Regions from separate parts of the Homo sapiens genome. Here region 2 is linked to region 1. The links are contacts of gene promoters, found by promoter capture Hi-C in blood cells and fetal thymus (Javierre and others, 2016). All regions are on one chromosome and are shown on one strand. Each heading gives the region's core, a stretch centred on a gene start or on the middle of the fragment in contact. The rest is flanking DNA. Distances are from core to core; before and after follow the strand shown. Region 1 holds the start of NARS1 (asparaginyl-tRNA synthetase 1). Region 2 overlaps TXNL1 (thioredoxin like 1).

Region 1 (7,645 bases), core at 3,738-6,237:
AAAATTAGCCGGGTGTGGTGGCGGGCGCCTGTAGAGCTTGCAGTGAGCTGAGATGGCACCACTGCACTCCAGCCTGGGCGACAGAGAGAGACTCTGTCTCAAAAAAAAAAAAAAAAAAAAAAAAAAAAGAGCACAAAAAGCTAAACTCATTTAATCTGAAAAACTCCCCCATGTAGAATACCTCTTTTCCCCAATGGGACATATCAAGCATTGCTGTGTTATATATCATTTGATAAAATGTATTGTTTGTAGTTTTTAAAAAATAGTTCAAAGTACATAAAAGATGAATATTTTAAAGCCTCAAATAATCTTTCAAAATCTCTTCCAAGTTATTGAATCAAACAAGAAATGCAGTGAATTATTCTCTGTTGCAAGATCTGCAGCCTGCAAAAACGGACTTTTTCTCAGTTCTACGACTGCTGCAGAGAAGGAGGGAATCTGAGGCCGGGCATGGTGGCTCACACCTGTAATCCCAGCACTTTGTGAGGCCGAGGTGGGCGGATCACGAGGTCAGGAGATCGAGACCATCCTGGCTAACATGGTGAAACCCCGTCTCCGCTAAAAATACAAAAAATTAGCCGGGTGTGGTGGCGGGCACCTGTAGTCCCAGCTACTCAGGAGGCTGAGGCAGGAGAATGGCGTGAACCTGGGAGGCGGAGCTTGCAGTGAGCCGAGATCGCACCACTGCACTCCAGCCTGGGTGACAAGAGCAAGACTCCGTCTCAAAAAAAAAAAAAAAAAAAAAATAGAGAAGGAAGGAATCTGGATCTTTTGAAAACATTCAAGGGCTGGGCGTGGTGGCTCACGCCTATAATCCTAGCACTTTGGGAGGCCGAGGTGGGCGGATCATGAGGTCAGGAGTTCGAGACCAGCCTGGCCAATATGATGAAACCCTGTCTCTACTAAAAATACAAAAATTGGCCAGGTGTGGTGGCACACGCCTGTGGTCCCAGCTACTCGGGAGGCTGAGGCAGAAGAATCTCTTGAATCCGGGAGGCAGAGGTTGCAGTGAGCTGAGATTGCACCACTGCACTCCAGCCTGGGTGACAGTGTGAGACTCCTTTTCAAAAAAAAAAAAAAGAAAAAAAAGAAAACATTCAATAGTTCATCCTTTTAACAACTAGACATTGTAAGAATACATGTAGGGGCCAGGCGCAGTGGCACACGCCTGTAATCCCAGCACTTTAGGAGGCCGAGGTGAGTGGATCACCTGAGCTCAAGAGTTCGAGACCAGCCTGGCCAACACGGTGAAACACCATCTCTACTAGAAATAAAAAAAAAAAAAAGAAATTAGCCAGGCATGGTGGCGAGTGCCTATAATCCCAGCTACTCAGGACGCTGAGGCAGGGAGAATTGCTTGAACCCAGAAGGCAGAGGTTGCAGTGAGCCGAGATCATGCCACTGCACTCCAGCCTGGGCAACAAGAACAAAACTCTGTCTCAAAAAAAAAAAAAAAAAGATAGCCATTGATGAAAATGCAAAACCAAGAGAGAAGGTCCCATGAATACATGTAGGTCGTTCGGAATTCACTTATTACCCGACAATCTGTACTGATCCCTCCTTTTGTATCATTGAAATTGAAAGAGCCAAACTATCAGTTCCCAAATCAGAATGCTACACTTTTGTTAACAGTGACATTCTGTTGTTAACAGTGACATTCTGCAAACGTTCATCTAAACGGTGTTGTCAGTTTTCAGGAGCTGCAAAACGAGGCACCCGATAATCCAGAAATGAAAGATTTCCCCTTAAGAGTGGTTAAAAAGTAAAACCCAGCCAGGAGTGGCGGCTCACACCTGTAGCCCCAGCACTTTGGGAGGCCAAGGCAGCAGGATTGCTTAAGCCCAGGAGTTTAAGACCAGCCTGGGAAACATAATGAGATCTCGTATCTACAAATAAGAAACAAATTAACCGCGTGTGGTGACATGCCCCTGTGGTCCGAGCTACTTGGAAGGCTGAGGTGGGAGGATCCCTTAAGCCCAGGAGGTTGAAGCTGCAGTGAGCCATGAATGCGCTACTGCACTCCAGCCTGGGCAACAAATTAAGATCCTGTCTCAGAAAAATAAATAAATAAGTTAAATTAAAAACAAGTACCCATGTATGACACACCAAAGTTTATAACCATATGGTATGACCTAAAAGAGAGGAGAATGCTCCCAGATTAGGACTTGATAGTAACTATAAATGTTGTAACACAGTTAACAAAAAAAGGGGATGCACAGAAAAAGGAGTGTCAAGGCACTGCTTTTCCTAATACAGTTCAAAGAAGGAACTTTTTTGTTGTTGTCGTCCAGGCTGCAGAGCAGTGATGCAATCACGGCTCACTGCAGCCTCAACCTCCTGGGCTCAAGTAATCCCCCTATCTCAGTCTCCCGAGTAGCTGGGGCCACAGGTGCATACCATACCACCATGCCTGGCTAATTTTTTTTTTTTTTTTTTTTTGGTAGTTGGCTGAGTGTGATGGCTCACTCCTATAAACCCAGCACTTTGGGAGGGTTAATATCCTGTCTCTATTTATTTTTTAAATTAAATTTATTAAAAAATTTTTAAGAAGTTAAATTTTTTGTAGAGATGAGGGTCTTATCATGTTGCCCAGGCTGTTCTCAAACTCCTGGGCTCAAGCAGTCCTCCAGCCTCAGCCTCCCAAAGTGCTGGGATTACAAACGTGAGGCACCAAAGCCCAGACCCAAGGAAGGAACTTTTAACCATCTTCCTTATGTGGCAGTTATAGCCAATGGATTCTAGCATATGAGTTCAACAGCTAAGTCCATGGTCTATTTTAAGAAGGTTGTCTTAGGCCACACTTTACTCTGATATAATCAACTACCTAACACCCATGTTGTGAGTCCAAGCCCTTTTTTTGTTTTTTCTTCTGAGACAGGGTCTCAGGCTAGAGTGCAGTGGCGCAATGGTGGCTCACTGCAACCTCCACCTTCCAGGCTAAAGAAATCCTCACCTCAGTCTCCGGAGTAGCTGGGACCACAGGCACGCACCACCATGCTGGGCTAATTTTTATGTTTTTTGTAGAGCCAGGATTTCACCAAGTTGCCCAAGCTGGTCTCAAACTCCTGCGCTGAAGCAATCCACCTGCCCCGGCCTCCCAAAGTGTTGAGATTATAGGCGTGAGCCACCACACCAGGCCTGAGTCCAAGCTCTTGACAAACCCCTTTGAGAATGAGCTAAACTCATTCAAGGATTCTAGATCCTGAGAAATAACAGCACTGTTAATTCATTAACAGAATGTTAATAAATTGGCATTCTAGCTTGAAGCTCCAGACTCATGAGTCAGCTCTGACAAATGAATCCATTCTTGGTGGTCTTGGAGTCAAATCTCAGGATCACACTCTGGATTGTGGTAAATTCACCAAAAGCCCTCTCAGGAGCCCCCTGGTCATGAGCTCACTGTAACTGAGGAAAGGTAACTTTTATCTTTACAAGAATTGAAAACCCAGCAATCTGACTCAATGGAGAGAAAAATTCCAAGAAGCAATGCCATGTGGTAAGAAAGAAGAGACCTTTTTTCAAAATGTTAAAAAGTAAGTTTAGACTTTGATCATCTAACAATCTTAAAGTCACATATCTGTATGCATTCCTTACTTTCCCTTTTCTGAAAATTCTCTTTGGAACCTAGTGTTTGAAATTAAGTTCTTGGCAAGTCACAAGAAAATTGACATAACTCATTAATAAATGCAGTCTCATTTTCCTAATGAGAAGAGACTCTACCTTTAGACCTGTTTTAAATGGTTTCTCCTTGGTTCCATCTCCCGTGGCATCGCTTCCCTCTCGGTCAGAGACGTACAGCTCTGCTGTTTGACAAAATGAGGGTAAGTTATGGTCTGGCCATTAACTATTAGTCACCTTACTACTTTATTCATTCCTTATCTTTGTAAACAGAACAAGCATCGATTAATAAAAATTGAGGTCCATAAGTAATTAATATCCTAGTTATTTCCCCACTCCATTTCAATAACATCCATCTCATAAAAACATTAGTTAATAATCCAGGTTTTCAAAATGAACTCTGATCATTTTAATTTGTGATATTTATTCTATCTAATTGGGCACCCAAAAATAAAATATGGGCTTTGAAGTTGATCAGACATACGCTGGAATGTTGGATTTTGTACCTTAAAAGGCAGGGTGACTCTGGAGAATTTACTTAACCTTTCTGAGCTTATTTCTTTACCTATAAAATAGGAAAAACAATCCCCATCTTGAAAGGCTGTGCTGAGGATGAAATAAAATAACACATACAAATCAGATATCCCAGTGCCAGTTTTTGTAGAGATGGCAAATAAACACCAGCTCCCTCTGGACTTTAAAGGAAACAGAAGCTCTGAGGTTAGAAAATTTCAGAAGGCCTCACAACTAGTAGGTCTGAACAGTTAACATCCATCCAGGTCTCTCTCTTTTTTTTTTTTTTTTTCCTACTGCACAGTATGGTCTCCCCGGAAACCTCAATAAAAAAATGAGGGTGGGAGAAAAACAACTAGAATCCTAAAGCCCCTTCCTGACGATCACTTTGAAGAACTGCAGGAGTAGGGGCTACCCTGTGTCTGAACCCGTCCCAGCGCCTGAGTCTCAGCGCAATCGGGAGGTTTCGCAGCGGGGCAGGGGAAGGGCCCGGAGCCACCGCCATCGCAGCCCGGGGGAACGACGGACTCGGGGAAGCCCGGCCTGGCCCTTCAAGTCCCGGGCCCAGCAAAGGCCAGCACCCTCCCTCCCTCCCTCCCTGCAATCGGTCCCCAAACATTCGCGGGGCGCCCACTCTGGTAGGCACTAAGGAAAGCGCCGAAACCCGACTGGAGCAGAGTTCCTGCCCCAGGCAGGGAACACCGCGCCATACACTGAGTCTCACCCACCTAGCACCATGCCTGCAGTGGCCCTGGTCACCTCCAAGGACACAGACTGCAACACCGACGCCGTCTTATGACTCCAACGTGCACCGGCGGTTTCCGCGATTCCGGCGTTGCATCAGAGAGCGTAGATCTGAGGGCGCCTGCGAGAATCGGCCGAGCGCCGCGGTTCCATTGGTTACGAGAGGTGGGCGAGCGGCGCCGGGGCCGCCATCTTTGGTGAGGGCAGAGGCAACTTCCGGATCCAGAGACGCCCCGCCCCACGCGTTTGTGCAGCTCGGAAGGCGCTGCCTGTCCCGGAGCTCCGCGGCCCTGGAGACCCTGGCACAGTGTCACTTTTGCACCCTTCCTTCCCCGCCTCCCCAACTTTCCTTTCTGAATCTTCCAATTCCGCCCCAGCTGGAGGCGTGCGGGTCCTCTTGCAAACCAGACCAAGGATGTCGCCCCGATCCCCAGATGGTGGAGGCTGGTTGAGTTCATGTCACCAGCAAACACCGCGCCAGCTGCGAGACGGGGTGCGCGGCGGTGGAGGGGACGCAGCGGGTTGCGTAAACTTCCTTTTTTTTTTTTTTTTTTTTGAGACGGAGTCTCGCTCTGTCACCCAGGCTGGAGTGCAGTGGCGCGATCTCGGCTCACCGCACCCTCCACCTCCCGGGTTCAAGCGATTCTTCTGCCTCAGCCTCCCGAGTAGCTGGGATTACAGGCCTGTGCCACCATGCCCAGCTAATTTTTGTATTTTTAGTAAAGACGGGGTTTCACCATCTTAGTCAAGCTGGTCTCGAACTCCTGACCTTGTGATCCGCCCACCTCGGCCTCCCAAAGTGCTGGGATTACAGGCGTGAGCCATCGCGCCCGGCCAGATGCGTTAACTTTCTAAACTCCGTGAGCCAGCGTCCCTCGGTGTTCAGGAGAGGAGCTATGGTATATGTTCATTTAAAATTGTAAGGATTACCGTTAGGAAGGCCATAATAATGTGGTGGAAAGAACGAGGGCTTCGGAATACAAACCTGGGTTCTGCCTTTTACTAACCGTGTGTCTTCAGATAAATTACCTAAACTGAATGAGCTTCATTCAGCGAGTTGGGACCGATTGCAGGGAGGGAGGGAGGGTCCTGGCCCTTGCTGGGCCCGGGACTTGAAGGGCCAGGCCGGGCTTCCCCGAGTCCGTTGTTCCCCGGGCTGCGATGGCGGTGGCTCCGGCCCCTGCCCCTGCCCCGCTGCGAAACATCCCGATTGCGCCGAGAGTCAGGCGCTGAGAGGGGTTTATCTGTGTCTTCAGATAAATTACCTAATCTGAATGAGCTTCAGTTTTTCTATTTGTGAAAGATGATATAAATTCACTGCCCGGGCATGTAAGAGGTGCTAATAAAGGGTCTGTCATCATTTTCAACTTTTTTTTACTTTTTTGGTGGGCTTTTTTTTTTTTTGGAGACTGGGTCTTCTCTGTTGCTCAGGCTGGAGTGCAGTGGTGCTATCATAGCTCACGGCAGCCTCGAACTCCTGGGCTCAAGTGAGCCTCCCACTTAAGCCTCCCAAGTAGCTGGGACTATAGGTGCACGCCACCACGCCTGGCTTATTTTATTTTTATTTTTGTGGAGATGGGGGAGGGGTCTCCCTGTGTCGCCCAGGCTGGTCTCCAACTTCTGGGATCAAGTGATCCTCCTGCCTCAGCCTCCCAAAGTGCTGGTCTTACAGGCGTGAGCTACCACGCCCAGCCCATTCTCAATTTAGTGGAATACCAGAGTTTGTCCCTGAAGCAAAAGAAAACCTTTTTTTTATGAGAGGTCCTCAAAAAAATAACTCTATATATAGGTTCAGGGCCCATCAAGAATATGAACCAAGTCCGGGCACAGTGGCTCATGATTGTTATCAATCCCAGCACCTTGGGAGGTTGAGGCGGGTGGATCACTTGAGGTCAGGAGTTGGAGACCAGTCTGGCCAACATGGTGAAACCCCGTGTCTACTCAAAATACAAAAATTAGCCGGGCGTGGTGGCACGCGCCAGTAATCCCGGTTACTCAGGAGGCTGAGGCAAGAAAATCACTTGAACCCAGGAGGCGGAGGTTGCAGTGAGCTGAGATCGTGCCACTGCACTCCAGTCTGGGTAACAGAGTGAGACTCCATCTCAAAAAAAAAAAAAAAAAAAAGTACCAAATACTATTCCTAAGGAATATTTCACCCAATTTTATGAACTTTCCCTTTTCCTCTTGGCTGAATGTTTTCTGTTGGCTCATGGATTAGTATCAATTGCTACAAAGCAAATTTTCCCAAACCTTAGCAGCTTAAAACCCCGAACATTTATTACCTTAGCAGTTTCTTTTGAGACAGTCTCAGTTCTGTCGCCCAGGCTGGAGTGCAGTGGCGCGATCTCAGCTCACTGCAACCTCCGCCTACCAGATTCAAGAGATTCTCCTGCCTCAGCCTCCCGAGGAGCTGGGATTACAGACGTGTGCCACTACGCCCAGCTAATTTTTGTATTTTGAGTAGACATGAGGTTTCACCATGTTGTCCAGGCTGGTCTTGAACTCCTGACCTCAAGTGATCTGCTTGCCTCGGCCTCCCAAAATGCTGGGATTACAGGCCTGAGCCACCATGCCAGGCCCTACCTTGCACAGTTTCTGATGGTCAGGAATAAGGTAGTGGGTTAGCTGGAGGTTCTGGCTCAGGTCTCTCATGAATCATGCTGAGGGCAGGGTCTGTAGTCATCCGAAGGCTTGGGTGGGTGGGGATCTGCCTCCAGGCTCACTCACAAGCTGTGGTCAGAAAACCTTTCCTTGCCAGGTGGGCTCCCGA
Region 2 (7,645 bases), core at 2,850-5,349, 1.0 Mb before region 1:
TCAGCTCACTGCAACCTCTGCCTCCCGGGTTCAGCCGATTCTTCTGTCTCAGCCTCCCAAGTAGCTGGGATTACAGACACCCGCCACCATGCCTGGCTAATTTTTGTATTTTTAGTAGAGACGAGGTTTCACCATGTTGGCCAAGCTGGACTCGAACTCCTGACCTCTGGTGATTCGCCCGCCTTGGCCTCCCAAAGTACTGGGATTACAGACATTAGCCACCACACCTGGCCAATTCCTGTTTTCTGAATTCACTATGCTGTATTTTTTCCCCAACTGTCTGATTTCCACATTCTTCTATTAGTTAAAAAAAAAAAAAAAAAAAAAAAGGCTGACTCAAATTTTAAAGTTTACCAGAAGAGATTAAAATCTTGATATATACCAAGAAAGAATCTGTGGACCCATTAGCTAAGTTTTAGGTAAGAGTAGCTAAATCTCATTAAACCTGTTTATTTCTTCTAATTTATAATTTGAGTAATTTCCATAGCTCAGATATACAAATGTCCTTTAATAAAAATGCAGTAATAATTTAACATGGTTAGCTGTTCCAGGTTCACTTATCAAAATAACTTGCCATGAATGTGTACACATGTACTTCTTAATTCCCTAGAACAGTTTCTCCTTTTCTAAAGAAACTGGCTTTCAATCAATATACTACCAGACACTTAAGTCTCTACTAAAATCAGAAGTTAACCAGTTTTCAAATACATGGAAAGAGAAAATACTGATTTAGAAAGACAAAAATTAAGCTTGGCAAAAGTGGTGACTTTTATTTACAATTGCATGTGTCAAGATTACAATGGAAACACTAGTGATACCATCTGAACAAAAGCAATGATTTATTGGTAATGGCAATGAATGAAACATTGACAGTCTCTGGCGAGAATCAAGCAATTATCCAGGAGCTGTAGATCTGATTGCAATATGGTTGTCCAGTGTCTTTTGTACCTTAGTGGCTTTCTCCTTTTTTGCCAACTACCTAGAAAAACAAAAATAAGTTTATATGTACATCCTATTGATTTTAAATATGAGTTATTAAAAATACTAATAATCAGTTTAAAACCTTGGTATTAATTTTTATCCTTGGATCTTTTCTGGCATGCAATGTATTTTCACTGTTGAAGCAAACTGTGACCTCCCCTCCAATCCCAGCCACAAGGAATTAAAAATAAAACACATGCAGGCTATTTTTGGTTTCACACAGTTTTTTTTTTTTTTTTAAATAGCAATTTTTAAAAACAAGGTTGAAAGTTTAGAGAAGTTAATTTAAAAAATGATGCTATATGAGTAAAACATATTTGACATACTATTTTTAGATAGTTAGAAATCAAATGTCGATCACAAAAGAATCTGGAATTAGAAGCGTATGTTAAACTCATGTCCTTCATGCCCAATATAGCAAATTTCCAGACTTTCCCCCTCAATACACTGACATGCAATGAAAACAGATTAAAAGTGACTAATTTTTTCTGGTTTAAGAAAAAGATCCTGGTTACTTTAAGAGTACTATTAAAAATGAAATGAATAAACCTTGTTTCTGTCAATGATTAGAAAAATCCTCTACTGGAGGATTATAAAAAACATTCTGGTTGCTATATATGTGGCAGCATAAAAATGTGAAGAATAAAAATTTGTTCTCTACCAACAAATCTAGAAAACAAATTCTCTGCAGGAGAGTTTGAAAACTATGTTCTAATTGAGAAATGTACTGACAACTTACAGTTTATCATTAGATAATGTATTCTTAGGGCAAAAATGCCTTGAAAGAAACCTACTTGCAAAATACTGAATGTATGTTTGTGTAGAAAGATTTCTGTGTACATTTATATATTTAATTTTCGTATTTTACATTGATTCTATTCTAAATGGCAGTATCTATACCAGCAAAACTCATAAAGGTCATCAGTACATGTCTGGTCTAAAATATAACATAGCTGGGTCAACATCATTCATGAGAGACCTGAAAGCTTTCCACTGAAATCCCAATCACACAATCCTAGAAATGTTTTTCCCACCCTAAGAAAACTCACTTCTAGTACCTTAAAAGAACTCCCCTTTGGTCCAAAGACACCATGTTAGAAAGCTCACAAGGTAGCAAGATGATAAAAAGGCAGTTTCATATAAAAGAATGTGGATAAGAGTAAGAAATTCAGGTTTTAAGAGCCACTAGAAGGGGAACTGGCATTATCTCTATCACAAGTAAATTTTGTGCTGATAAACACTGAGAGCATTATTGATCATTGTATTACTTGGGAAACACAAAACACAAAGCTATTAGATTAAGCAAAAGAAAACAAAAACAAATATTAAAAATTAAACTTCTAGCAGATGTGATACAGAAGACACAAATCTGCATACTGTTTCACAGGTTGATAACTCTCAACTTGCCAATGTGTATTTTCTGTAAAAAAGAAGAAATTCAACATTCCAACATGGATTGTCATCCCAAACGTAAAGCTCTTTTATTCATTCTTAAGTCTTTATATTACACCTCAGACAAACCAAAATTTAGGTACATAAAAATTAGGTGTAAAAAATATTTATTCAGTAAAGAGTCCATTGATCTTCTATATTAATATGTTAACCCAACCTAATATTCAGTCCATAAGTCCTTCAACTGGTTTTGAGCTCACTTGGGCAAAAGCAGAGGACATGCCCCAATCAATCATCAAAAGGACTTTGGGGCTAACATTCCAACGAGGAAAAGAAAACCAACACCCCTCAACTGAAATGTAATCAATATATTAAACTAGCACAAACATAAAAGAACTTGATGCAACTGCTATATTTGTTTTCCAAAAGAATTCTATAGTTCCTAGGAAATAAAATTTAAAGTTTAGAATGGATTAAAACTATTCAACTAGTTAAATCTAAAACATTTTATAACAATTTAATTTTATTGTGATGTTATGCCTCAAAATGTAATACAAAATTAAATATGAAACAGTAGAAAGTAAAAAAAAAAAAAGGCTAGTGAGCAACACGGTATGGTAAAAAATTAAAGCACCTAGTTGCAAGCCCAAAACAAAAGCCAAAACAAAATAAAAGGCCAATTAAGAAACACAACTAGGATGAGATCTGAAGAAAGAGATGATTGAGGAAACCTAGGTAACAAGGCTGATCCAGATGATAGAAGCTGTAGAAATCTTGCACCAACAATGGCGAGAACATGGGAAGGGTGAGAGCAGACAGGTGCTAGATGAGCAGAGAAGCAAGGAGGGGAGTAGAGTGAGACAAGGTCAATCTTTATATTACTTCATTTTAAAATATCTTCTGTTTTTAGTTCATTTGAGTTGGATTAAAAAAGCTGAAAAATAAACAGACAGAAATGTTACAAAAATAGCTGATACGGTGAATGGCCAGTTTAGAAAAGTCTATTTTTATTATAGTGATAAAAATCTTTTCACATGCACCTCATTTCCTAAGAAGCAGAAGCCCCTATAATTTTCTCATTTTTGTATTTTTATAAAATTGTAATTAAAAATTCTGTATTAAAATAAAGCAATCCATATAAAGAGCATATTTTAGCAAAAACATCTACTTCCAATTAAGATGGCAATGGCAAGCTTTTCATGCTGCAACACAAAAAATCCATTGACAACAACAAACAGCCAAAGTATAGATTATAATCTGTGCGTGATGCCTATAAGAGCCAAAACCAGACAAGTGGAAGGGGTATTCTAGTCTGTCAAACCTTAAAAGTCTAACCTTCAAAGTTGTAATAGCATGAAAGGTTGTCTAAGATTTCTGTCCACATTGGAGATTCAACAGCATTACCTTAGCTTCTGTCAGATATCTTAGTGACATAAGAAGTCAGTGACATACTAAAAACGGAAATTATCCAGAAACAGCTCACACAAGATAAAAATATAAACTGAAAATGCTAAACATTTGATCTACTTTATTATTCATTAAGCCATTTTATATAGCGCCCTTCACTACACAGAGGTCATCAAAATTTTCCTCCCTGTGCCTATAAAATATATGCCAAATCTATTTCAAAATTTTCAATTCTAGGCCAGGCATGGTGGCTCACGCCTGTAATCCCAGCACTTTGGGAGGCCCAGGCGGGCGGATCAACGAGGTCAGGAGATCGAGACCATCCTGGCTAACACGGTGAAACCCCGTCTCTACTAAATATACAAAAAAATTAGCCAGGCGTAGCGGCGGGCACCTGTAGTCCCAGCTGCTACAGAGGCTGAGGCAGGAGAATGTGGTAAACTCGGGAGGCAGAGCTTGCAGTGAGCCGAGATCACACCACTGCACTCCAGCCTGGACAACAGAGCAAGACTCCGTCTCAAAAAAAAAGAAAAAAATTTCAATTCTAATTACTATGTATATACTAATTCAGACTGAGCAAACAAGTAAAAGAAAAGACATGCCACATGTGACTTGTCCTTGAACGATTGAATCCTCCACCTTCCTAAGTTCATGTCCAGGTCCCTACTTTTCCATTCTATCAAGGGTGCCCATAGCTGCCTGTTGAACTGTCCAAATTCTACTCTCAAAACTTAGTTCAAGGCCCTCTTTCTTCACAAAGTATTCTCAGACTTTCCCAGTCGTTGGGGGAAAAGGAAAAGTCACCTAGCTGGTAACGTCTGAGAATACTCTGTGGACAAAGAAACCCTTGAACTAAGCTTTGATTAATTTTGATTAACTTTCCCTATGTTTGTCCCTATGTTATCTACAAGAATATAAACTGCTGTAGACAGAGATCATGACTGAAGAGTAGTCCCTCCTTATCCATGCTTTCACTTTCTGCAGTTTCAACTGCCTATGGTGCAGTACAATAAGATATTTTGAGACAGTGAGAGAAAGAGCAAGCATGGGAGAGACCATATCCATGTCAACTTTTAACCACAGTATATTGTTGTAATTGCTCTATTTTATTATTAGTTGGTGTTAATCTTTTTTATTTTTCTTTCTTTTTGATATGGGGTCTTGCTCTGTCACCCAGGCTGGAGTGTAGTGGCGTGATCCTAGCTCGCTGCAGCCTTGAACTCCAGGGTTCAAGCGATCTTCCCACCTCAGCCTCCCAGGTAGCTAGAACTACAGGTGTGCCCACCACCTTGCCTGGGTAATTTTGTGTGTGTGTGTGTGTGTGTGTGTGTGTGTATTCTTATAGAGATGGAATCTTACTATGTTTATCAGGCTGGTCTTGAACTCCTGGGCTCAAGTGATCTTCCCACCTCAGCCTCCCAAGTAGCTGGGACTACAGGTGCACCCACCGTCTTGCATGGGTAATTTTTTTTTTTTTTTAAATAGAGATGGAGTCTTACTATGTTTGCCAGCTGGTCCTGAACTCCTGGGTTTAAGTGATCTTCTAGCCTTGGCCTCCGGAAGTGATGGGATTATAGGCATGAGCCACCATGCTCTGGCTTTGTTGTTAAATCTCTTACTGTGCCTAATTTATACATTAAACATTATCAGCGGTATGTATATATGTACAGATGCTCCTCGACTTCCGATGGGGTAATATATCCCGATTAAACCCATTGTAAAGACCAGGCACGGTGGCTCATGCCTCTAATCCCAGTACTTTGGAAGACCAAGGAAGGCAGTGAGGTCAGGAGTTTGAGACCAGCCTGGCCAACATGGTGAAACCCCATCTCTACTAAAAATACAAAAATTAGCCGGGTATGGTGGCAGGCGCCTGTAATCCTAGCTACTTGGAAGGCTGAGGCAGGAGAATCACTTGAACCCGGGAGGCAGAGGTTGCAGTGAGCTGAGATCGCACCATTGCACTACAGCCTGGGTGACAAGAGTGAAACTCCATCTCAAAAAAATAAAAATAAGTAAACCCATTGTAAGGTGAAAATATTGTAAGTCAAAAATGCTTAACTGCCCCACACTTAAGAGAATGGTTTCTACTGAGTGCATTATCAATTTTGCACTATTGTAAACTTGAACCATCATAAGTTGGGAACCATCTGTATAGGAAAATACACAGTATGTACAGGGTTTGTTAGTGTCTGTGGTTCCAGGCATCCACCGGGGGTCTAAGAATGTATCCCCCCGCCCCGACAGATAAGGAGAGACTATTGTACTAGCATCGTACTACAGGGACAAAAGATACCATACCACATATTATTTCCTTCAATGAAAACCAAACTCAATTATAATTTTTAATAAGCAAATCTATCTGTACAAGGACTAAGCTGGCCAATTTCAGTTACATGTAAACCCTCTTTTTCTTTTTTTAACTACATTGAAGTTGTTACTTTGTACAATATAAAAACAATGAAATACTAGCTTACTTTTAAAGAATAACCCTAAAAGACAAAGAATAACTACAGTACAAATGTCATTCAGAAATATTACAAGAAAATGCAATATTAATATACCTAAGAAAATCACTTAATCAACTAAAATTTATTAAACATTAAAAGCAAGGGGCTAAGAAGCCCAGAACACCAACAAGGGAGTAGATTATGGTATTCAAATTATTCTTGTAGCAGTTCTCAAAGTGTGGTCTCCAAGACCCTCTCAAGGAGTCTGGGAGGTCAACACTATTTTCATAATGCTAAATCGTTTTTTGCCTTTTAGACTCTTATTCTCTTCACAAGTATCCAGGGGAGTTTTCCAGGGGCTATATGATGTGTGACAGGAAAGCTGACTGAATGCAGAAGCAGATATGAGAAGGAAAGGACACTATAAGGCTCGTAAACAGAGAAGCCTGGGCAACATAGTAAGACCCTGTCCCCACACAAAAATAAAACATTAGCCGAGTGTGGTGGCACACGCCTGTAGTCTCAGCTACTCGTGAGGCTGAGGCTGGAGGATCACTTGAGCCCAGGAGTTTGAGGTTGCAGTAAGCCATAACTGTGCCTCTGCACTGCAGCATGGGTGACAGAACAAAACCCTGTCTCAAAAAAAAAAAAAAAAAAATCATAAAATTCTGAATCAATGCTCTTCTTACCAAATTGGTTTTTCTTTTAGAAAATATGCTTATTTCTAATTTAAAAATATTCATTAACATGTGTTCATTATTTACAAATATTTTTTATATTTCCCACTTTTAACTTATAAATGGCAAATATCAGATAAATATAGCCCACATAAACAAAAGTTCTTTTTGGCCTTCAATAGTATTTAATAATATAAAGAGGTCCTGAGATCAAAAAGCTTGAGAACTGCTATCATATGGTAATTTAAAGTTAAAAAAAATCAAATGAATAAATGGCTGTTATAAAACAAGCACAAATACTCTCAAACAAAAAAGGTCTTACACCTTTGCTATCCTAAAGACAGCCCCCAAAAACGTAGTTTGACAGTCAGAAAAGAGAAAATACTAGGCTAGAAGGGATGTGAGGGGGATGTTAAACACGAGGTGGAGGCAGATAGTTAGATGGATAATTATTCATGCAAATTAGAGAAACTTTAACTGAATGGCTAGCTGGTAAGAAGGTAAACAAGATAGAATGGTGGTTACAGAAAAAAATGAAAATCAAATAGCATAAACTGAGGTAAGAAACAGGAAACTAGAGCCAAATTAATGAATGATATGAGAAAATAATAAGATAATAGTAATAGATCTTATAAAAAACTAAGTTAAGAATAAACCACACAAGGCACACTTAAAGCCAAGTCCAATGGCATCTAATTCAAAAAGGTAAAGCAGGCAGCCAAGACGTCTTTGTTGCTC

The links. Contacts are between HindIII fragments. The CHiCAGO score rates a contact against its expected background, and 5 or more counts as called.
Region 2: a fragment that was not itself captured here is called in contact with the fragment with the promoter of NARS1 in region 1 in 2 of 17 cell types (naive CD4 T cells and total CD8 T cells); the score reaches 5.9 in naive CD4 T cells.

The regions. Positions count from the first base shown.
Region 1 is chr18:57,616,849-57,624,493 of GRCh38, forward strand. It overlaps NARS1 (asparaginyl-tRNA synthetase 1), which reads right to left and starts at 4,988. Exons shown (of 14, transcript NM_004539.4): 1 at 4,860-4,988; 2 at 3,721-3,803. The coding sequence starts at 4,869. RefSeq lists enhancers at 4,837-5,541, 4,922-5,261. The HindIII fragment of the contact is 17,897 bases long and covers 1-7,645 here.
Region 2 is chr18:56,602,078-56,609,722 of GRCh38, forward strand. TXNL1 (thioredoxin like 1) reads right to left here. Exons shown (of 8, transcript NM_004786.3): 8 at 1-979. The coding sequence ends at 950. Among named protein-coding and RNA genes, the nearest start is that of TXNL1, 33 kb to the right of the region's middle. The HindIII fragment of the contact is 1,071 bases long and covers 3,565-4,635 here.